Regions from separate parts of the Homo sapiens genome. Here region 1 is linked to region 2. The links are contacts of gene promoters, found by promoter capture Hi-C in blood cells and fetal thymus (Javierre and others, 2016). All regions are on one chromosome and are shown on one strand. The core of a region is centred on a gene start or on the middle of the fragment in contact, and the rest is flanking DNA. Distances in the headings are between cores, read along the strand shown.

Region 1 (4,513 bases), core at 1,928-4,427, about 26 Mb after region 2:
AACCTGCAAAATTCACTGCCCCAAGAGATCTTTCAACTGTCTGAACTATTGAAAGACAGAAAAAATAGTCTAAATGCAGTTGATAGTTTTAGCTTGGATTTCCAAATCTCTGGCTTCATATCCAAATTTCTGGCTTCATATCCAAAAATCCCTACAGCAATACTATTTGCTATAGTTCTCTAAATTTCTCCTGTAAAGAATATTCTATTTTCCTTCAGAGGAAGAAAATTTCTGGTCTTTGAAACAATCAGTAGCTTCCACCAGAACCTGAGTACCTGATTAGATGAGCCAGAAATAGAGTTTGGCAAATGTTACATTCTTTTTGGGTGATGACAAAGAAATGGCAATTTTAAAGGCTCGGCAAATACTAGTCTGATTCAACATTTAACTGATTCATTTGCTAGTTAAAATGCACCTACAGATAACAGTCTGACCACACAGTAGCCTGAATTGAATAAAAAAATATATATTTACTCTGATCACCACAATTTCACAAATAGAGATCCCATTTGAGTTATACTGTAAGTAACAGCCATGCTTTCAGAAAGTTAACATATCCAAGGCTATATGCTGCCGCTGCTGCTGCTGATGATAGTTAATTCATCTTACCCCATGTGCTTGCATGTCACTATGTTCCAAATGCTAACTCTAAAAAATATTAACCAAAAAGAAAGAAATAAAATCATTTACCTTGCAAACTTTAATTCTACAAAAGGGATATGTTGAGTGAAATTTCTCCATATATGTAAGATGTTCTCTATTGAGACTGTTACATCTTATTAAGTACTTGGATCTTATTTAAAAAAAAAAAAAAGGCTGGGCTTGGTGGCTCACACCTGTAATCCCAGCACTTTGGGAGGCTGAGGCGGGCGGATCACAAGGTCAGGAGTTCAAGACCAGCCTGACCAACATGGTGAAACCCCGTCTCTACTAAAAATACAAAAATTAGCCGGGTGTGGTGGTGCGTGCCTGTAACCCCAGCTATCCAGGAGGCTGAGGCAAGACAATCGCTTGAACCTGGGAGGTGGAGGTTGCAGTGAGCCAAGATCGCACCACTGCACTCCAGCCTGGACAACAGAGTGAGACTACATCTCAAAAAAAAAAACATAGGCCAGGCATAATGCCTCATACCTATAATCCCGACACTGGGAGGCTGAGGCAGGAAGATCGCTTGAGCCCAGAAGTTTGAGACCAACCTGGGCAACATAGTGAGACCCTGTCTCTACAAAAAAATTTTAAAATTTGCCAGGTGTGGTGCTGTGAGCCTGTAGTCCCAGCTACTTTGTGGGCTTGGGTGGGAAGATTCCTTCGGCCCCAGAGGTCGAGACTGCAGTGAGCTGTGATGACACCTCTGCTCTCCGGCCTGGGCAACAGAGCTGAGACCTTGTTCCAAAAAAAAAAAAAGAATATAAAAGAAATTCATGTATTTGTCACCTAGATTTAACAAATGTTAACAATTTGCTATTGCTTCTGGGTTTTTTTTGTGTGTGTGTATAGACAGGATTTCTCAATGTTGCCCAGGCTACTCTTGAACTCCTGGGCTTAAGCAATCCACCCACCGCAGCCTCCCAAAGTGCTGGGATTATAGATGTGAGCCCCAACGCCCGGCCTGCTGCTGAATCTTTTTTTTTTTTTTTTTTTTTGAGACAGAGTTTCGCTCTTGTCGCCCAGGCTAGAGTGCAATGGTGCGATCTCAGCTCACCGCAACTCTGCCTCCTGGGTTCAAGCGATTTTCCTGCCTCAGCCTCCCGAGTAGCTGGAATTACAGGCATGCACCACCATGCCCGGCTAATTTTGTATTTTTAGTAGAGACAGGGTTTCTCCATGTTGGTCAGGCTGGTCTTGAACTCCCGACCTCAGGTGATCCGCCCGCCTCGGCCTCCCAAAGTGCTGGGATTACAGGCGTGAGCCAGGGCGCCCAGCTGCTGAGTCTTAAAAAATAAAAACTTATAGATACATCTTGGTGTGTGGGGAGGTGGGAGGTTGTTGGTTTTTTTCTTTTGTTTTGTTTTTGTGACAGGGTCTCACTGTGTCACCGAGGCTGGAGTACAGTGGCAGAGTCTTGGCTTACTGTAGCCTCACCTCCCAGGTCCAAGCGATCTTCCAACCTCAGCCTCCCGAGTAGCTGGAACCACAGACATGCACCACCACACCCAGCTAATTTTTTAAAAAATCATTTTGTAGAGATAGTTATCTACCTATGTTGCACAGGCCAGTCTTGACCTCCTGGACTCAGGCAATCCATTTACCTTGTTCTCACAAAGTGCTAGGATTAGAGGCCTGAGCCACTGTGACTGGCCCAAGTCCTAAGTTTGATTCATAGTATTCTCATGCATGCTGTATCAATAAAAATAGGGATTTTTTGTTTTGTTTTTTGCATTTTATACTGTTTTTCAATTCTTGCTCTTTTTTTACCTTCCTTGGGAGATGTGATTTTTTCCCAGTGGAAAAATCTTGGACTGAAACTTTGCTTTTCTAGCTGCTAACTCAAATCCTCTCTCTTTTCACCTGGATCATAAATAAGATTTTAGTGTTCAAATTCTGAAGATGCTTACATGAATGTTATGAAGCAACTTCTAACAAAATATTATAGATATTAGTTCCTAGCTGGAATTACTTAATCAGGATTCTTTTCTAGATGCAGTTTCACATACAGCTGGGTACTCCAAGTGTACAGTTCCCATCAGCTCTAATATGGTGAGAAAAATGTGCTTATACTTCATCACTTTCCCAAAATACACACTAGTAAAAGGATACAAGGGCCAAAGCTCTGAAAAAGAACAAAGCAGTCTTTCTCAATAGCAGTACTGAAATTAGTAATTTGCTTACTGGTTCTGAATACTCTGACTAAAGATAGCATCTGTTTCAACTTGTTGGATACTAGCAAAAGCTTCATCAGGACAAGCTTCCAACGGATGGTGTAGAAAGGATATACAACTGACAGGTTGCTGAGTGGACAATAAGTGGCGAACCAACAACTGGCTCAGCACATTCATTGGGTAGTTTACTTACTTGAGCATGAGTCCAGGAGGCTCAAACTAGGTTACAAACTAAAGTGACTCACAATTTAGCAATCCATTTAGCCACCATTTGCATGTTAAAATGAGCCAGAAAACACAGTGCAATTAATTGACTTTTTGGTCAATAATTTTTGGTTAAAAAAGATCTTAAAATAACATTGCTAAAGAGAATATAGGAGATTTGCTAACATTTATTTTGGTTTTAAAATTAATGACATAAAGTTTAAAGGATTAGTTTTAAAGGGTCAAAATGTATTGTCTGTTACCTATAAATATTTTTACTGGTCTTTAGACATCAGATTGAACTGAATTGAATGTACAAAGATCTGGCTCAACTGTGCAAGATAAAACCTATTCCTCAGAACGATGTCTTTAATAGGCAAAACCAAATAAATTGTTTACTACTACCAGACACTTGTTTAAGCTTCTCAGCAACCCTATAGGTTTTATGTTACAGATGTAAAACTTAGGTATAGAGAGGTTAAGTAATTTGCCTAGAAATCATAGAGCTAAAAAGTGGTGAGCAGAATGGCTTTGAACGCTGATTCTACAGCTTATGGTCTAGGGTGGTCCAAGTCTGTTAGGTGGGCTAATGAGGATCACTAGATCTGGAGTCAGAAGACCTCAAACTGTATCCCACCTCTGCCATCTGTGTGATCTTAAGCCTACCTAAGGCACTAATTCTACTTCACAGGTTTGTGAGGCTTCAGTATGATCGTGAGTGTAAGTGGTAAGTGTTAAGAGATCTTTTCAACTGTAAAATATAATATGTCACCTTGGATGAGTAGCTGTCTTCTTTAAGCTTCATCTGTAAATTGAGGCTTATAACCACGGCATGATATGTGCTCGTTTTGAAGATGAAATAAGACAATGAATGTAAACCATATGATACATTAATGCACCGTGCCTGGACCACAGAATTCAATCCAAATGCTAGTTATTATTCAGCACGACACTTTTCTTTCTTCTGGCTCATGTAGGAAAATTTTAATAAACCTCTTGATGAATAGCCGTAGAGATGGGGTGAAAAACCCCCAGAGGACAGAGAATAGGTAAACTCTTTTTTCTTTTAATTATTTTCTTCCTAATTCCACTGTATAGACAGAAGGCTGAGGCCGGGGTGCTAGAGAACCTTGCCGTGCTGGAATTCACGTTGACGCCCCCACGGAGCTCTGCTGCAGAGCCCTCGAGTCCCGCACTTCCGGCCGCCAGGTGGCGCTGGTTCTGTTGCCAACTCGGAGAGACTGAGCTGGGCCACGCAAGATGGCGCCGTCCGCCTTGCTGCGTCCCCTTTCCCGGCTGCTGGCCCCCGCCAGGCTCCCGAGCGGCCGTGAGTATCCTCCTCGTGCAGGCCGACTCGACCCTCAGATTACCCCTCCTAAGGCGGACCCAGCCCACGGGTGCAGGAGGCGGCAGCGGCCCGGGTTCGTCCTGCAGTGACCTTCGCCGGCAGACGACCCAAGGCCCAGCCCACGCCTGTCCCCTACGCAGGG
Region 2 (4,566 bases), core at 522-3,021:
TGAGTTCATAAAACATAAAATTTAGTGAGGAATAACAACTAGTGTCCAAACCATCAAAAATTATGTGATAAGAACAATAAAGGGGGGAATACACAGTGCTATGAACTTCTAGAGAAAGGTGCTATCTAAACTGAGACCTAGAACAGGAGAAGGAGGTGACAAATTAAAAAATAGAGTGAGGGAGAGAGGGTCAAGGGAGGGGTTTTGCATAGAGAGAACAGCAACTCCAAAGACTCAACCAGGAGATTAGAAAAAATATGAGAATTGAAGCTGGAAAGTTTCCCAATAATGCCTTCCTTACTCCCTTCTAACGATTCCAGATTGTCTTGGGTGATCTTAACTATTTTCTGTTTTAAAAATATGCTGACATCCATCATCTCTATCTCTAGCCCTCTCCCCTAAACTCCAGGATCTAATTATCCAAGTTTACTGGTCATATCCAGTCAGAGAGTTCAGAGGCACATGAACTCACTCAACAGGTCCAAAGGTTCAGTATGTGCTCCTCACAACCCCCGCCCAAATACTAGGCCTCCTTTAATGCCTAATTCTCAGACATAACGTTTTAAGTCTCTCCCATTCTGCTGCCTTAAGTCTTCAAACTCTTACCCAATTTAGAAACACTTGGTTTAGTTAACATTCAGGAATTTACTTTTCACAAAGGAGCGAGGGAATGGATATACTGTTGCTAACCGAACAAGGAATTAAAGAGGAGAGGGGAAACAAGGTCTTGGAAAATTGAATTTCCTTTTCCTTTACTCATTCTTGGGCAACCTAAATGACTGGAAGCCTGTTCTGGAACAGGTTGACTAGATAAATTTAGTTATTTGTGGATTCTCAGAAACCTTGAAGTTTAGCTGTCAGCCAGTCTCTGTCCTTTGGCACTTTAACACGGATTTCACCAGCTCCTTCATTTTCTGGACTTGCCCTGCCTCCAAGCTTGCCCTTCCTAAACCTTATTTCTAAGATGCAATGCCACGATCTATATAAATTTAAACATCAGAGATAACCTCCTTAAAACACTCAAAGTTCAAGGGAGTGCTTGCCCTAAGCATAAAGATCAAGCCCCGCTGTGATTGATGCACACGAGGCCCTTCCAGACTTCTTCACTCTTCATTTCTTACATTCTCGCCATCCTACACTTCACATTTTTGCAGTATCTGATCACTCATGGTTGCTACTGCTTCATTCCTCTCTGCCCACGGAAATATCGTTCCCTTACAGGTGATGTCCTCCCATTCAACTCCTAGTCATCCTTCAGTAACCTCCTCTCGGACGCCCTTCCCAACCCCACTACTCCCAAAGCACACTACATCTTACCTCCTTCTAGTGGTTCCTGCTTTTGTATAACTTTCGCCAGCCTATCACCCTGTGCTGCAACTATCTTCTACGTCCTGTCTCCCGAAGACAACACATTTTAAAGGGCAAGAAACATGCCCTAGCCTAGTTCCATCACTTAAGAATTTCACTCCGTTTTCATCCTTTCTAGCACGTACCTTAGCCTAGGCCCACCTTCACTCCAGTCTCCTTCCGCCCCGTCTCGGGTACCACTGCCAGCGTCCCGCCCAGCGCGTGCATCCGCACCCAGAACCCGCTCCCCTCGATCTCACGGAGCACCGGGTGGGAGCCCGCCTGCTCCCCCTTCCTCGCTCATGAGCCACTCCTCCAACCCCCTCACCTGAACGGCCGCGAGATGACTGCCGGCCACCGACACCGAGGACTCGCCAGGTGTTCCAACCTCGGAACCTGCCTCGCCTGGCTTGGGGGTGGAGCCGGGTGGGCCAGGCGGCCCGTCCTGTCGTTATTGGCCTGCGAGAGCTCCCGCCCCGCCTTCTCGGCGCGGTGATTGGTCTGTGCAGTTGCCGACATCGTGTGACTCGCGCGAACGAGCTCCTGGCGGTCCCAGCCATTGGCTCCGCGGATGGAGTGAGGATAGTGAGACCTGCAGAGCCAGCCAATGGTCGGCACCGCGGAGCGCCCGGAGGCGGGGAAGCGTGAGAGCGCGCCACGGCGTGAGGGGGCGGGCACAGACGGATGGCCGCCTCGCCCTGCAGCGCGGAGTCGCCTTGGCAACTGCGGTCCCGGCAGATTCCCAGTGAGAGCCTGCGCTGTGCGGGGGAGAGTGTCGCGCCGGCCGCCGTCCCAGGACTTTTATTTCAAATGTGACCTGTGTAGCAACCGCAGTTCCCAAACCCGGGAAGAAGAGAGTATAGATGAGTCTTAAAATCTATGTTGACTGTTTTGTGTTTCCAGACACCCTTGCCTTCCTTTTTCTGGTCTACCATTTAGATTTAGATCTTTCGTCTCCCTTGTTTCCCCAGCCTACGTATCCTTTAATAAATTCCTGCATTTTGAAAACGGAGAATTTCAAATGCGATTATCGTCATTTTGCAGATGAGAAATAAAGGCTGGGAAAGATTTAAAAAGATTGAACATCAAGGGAGAGTTCGGCTCCCAGGACCTTGACCTCGCTACATGGGCAGAGAACGCCCAGGTGTTGTTGCAATTGTTGTGCTGGACGATGAGTGCCCGGGGGCGGGGGCGGGGGCGGGGGCTTGACGCAGGTCTTTGCAGCTCTAAAGCTCAGTTTACACCATCTCTCAACATTAAAATATTGTGTACTGGGGTTTAATAATAAAACTGTACAGATGTGATAATATACTAAAACTTTCACTTAACGGAAGAGGTGCCTTTAAAGAAAAAACCGCACAGGGGCATCATTTGGGCTAGTGAAGGCCCTTTTTCCTCCTTCTTTATTAAGGTATAATTGACAAAAATTGTGTTTACGGCGTACACATGTTTTGATTATGTGTATATTGTGTCAAATATATACAGCTTCTGAAAACAGAATACTATTGTTTCATTCCTCCATGCTTTTGCTCAAACTGGCCCTTCTGCCTGGAATAATCAGCCATCTCCATGCCGCCCCATCAATTCAGGTACTATCTCCTTGAGGAAGTTCCCTCTTGAAAAGTGTCTTTTTTAGATTCAGTGTGACCTGTACTTATTCGTCTATCCCTCATGTTTGGCACACACATTCTTTGTAAAGTATCATGACAGCGGTCACGTCAAATGAAAAGAAATGGGATCTGTCCCTTGGTTGTCAGAGTCAGCCCTGTCTTTAGGATGCCTTTACAGTGGTGTCTGAAACCATGCCTATATACTTTATGAAGTTAATCTGGGAAAAAGGGGTGGGGGGAACGAAATTAAACCAAGCTTGCAGCACACTGAGGATTAATAATTAGGTCAGCTTGCTGTCTGACCCCTTCCTCATAATTGTTTGCCTATTGCTTCAGAATCATGTAGACTCTGTTACAAGGTTATAGTTTCCCCTAACTGCTCTATAGACAACAACTTGAACATTATGAAACGTTAAGTTTGTGCTTTGAGATAACCTTTCAGGTCCTTCGTACTGATGAAACTACTGACTCAGCTGGTCTGACAAGGAGCTGACTCACCAAAGAATGCAGTTCCCACATCCTGATGGTTTCATTCCTCCTTACCCCAGCCAATCGAGGACCCTAATTTTCCAGCCCATTGCCCTCCAGGATCCCCTTAAAAGCCCCAGCACAGAACTCCTCAGAGAGATGAATTTGAGGGTTTCCTCCCATCTCCTCTCGGCACCCTGCCATCACTAAACTCTTTCTCTTCTGCAAACCCTGCTGTCTCAGTGTATACTGTGCAGTGGGCATATGAATCTGTTGGTCCTGTAGTGGATGCTGTGGCACACCACCCAGATCCCCCTCTTCAAGACCTAAGCAGGCATTCCTCCAGCTGCTGAGTACTGCCAAAGAGAAGCACCTCTCCCCACGGGTATACCCCCTTTCTAGGCAACAGCTAGTCAAGTAACTGGTTGAAACGGGTATAAAATCCCCTAAACCAATGTAGGGCTACTTTGCTTGGCCATCCCAGCTCCAGAGCTCCCCATCCTATTGGTTGTGTGATGACTGCACTGCCACCCAACTTTTCTCTCTGCCCAAACCTGCCATCCTCTATCAGGTGAGCATCAATAGCACACACTATCGGGCCACACTTACTAGGCTTGGCATTTTATTAGCAGTGGATAAGTTACTTCTCTGTCTTATCTGGTACTTCTGTGAAATAATAATACCTACACCTCGAAGAGTTATTTATGATGATTACATGAGATAACGTATGTAAAGCCCTTTGCACAGTCTCTGGCATACAAGATATGATCAGTAAATGTCAGCAATTATTTCTGATTTGGAATTCTACCACAGTATTACATTTTCTAAATCAGAGCAGGTGTAGGTGTATGGAGGGGTCAGATTATTTTAAACCTTAAAGGCTTAGAGCTGGAAAAAAATGCTGATGCAGCAGCTCAACTCACTTATTTCCCTACAATGAAGATTAACAGGGGGCTCAGGGAACAATAGCTGTAATTTATTGAGGGCCCGCTGGATTTCAAGCATATTAACATGCATCATTTCTTTCAAACGCAACAACCTTGTGACACAGACACTCCTATTGCCATTTTAAAAACAAAATAAGGATTAGAGGTTAAGTAATGTGTTGAAAGTCACAGCTAGCAATTGATAGAGGGAGCTG

What was found. The method cuts DNA at HindIII sites, captures the fragments that hold promoters and counts their contacts. A CHiCAGO score of 5 or more calls a contact.
Region 1: a contact is called between a fragment that was not itself captured here and the fragment with the promoter of MSMO1 in region 2, in 1 of 17 cell types (naive CD8 T cells). The highest score is 5.5, in naive CD8 T cells.

Annotation. Positions count from the first base shown.
Region 1 is chr4:139,295,569-139,300,081 of GRCh38, reverse strand. It overlaps NDUFC1 (NADH:ubiquinone oxidoreductase subunit C1), which reads left to right. Exons shown (of 6, transcript NM_001184989.2): 2 at 2,639-2,697; 3 at 4,122-4,350. The coding sequence starts at 4,284. Among named protein-coding and RNA genes, the nearest start is that of NAA15, 3.7 kb to the left of the region's middle. RefSeq lists an enhancer at 3,928-4,491. The HindIII fragment of the contact is 539 bases long and covers 2,908-3,446 here.
Region 2 is chr4:165,324,874-165,329,439 of GRCh38, reverse strand. It overlaps MSMO1 (methylsterol monooxygenase 1), which reads right to left and starts at 1,771. Exons shown (of 6, transcript NM_006745.5): 1 at 1,676-1,771. RefSeq lists an enhancer at 1,473-1,742 and a silencer at 1,833-2,172. The HindIII fragment of the contact is 2,277 bases long and covers 939-3,215 here.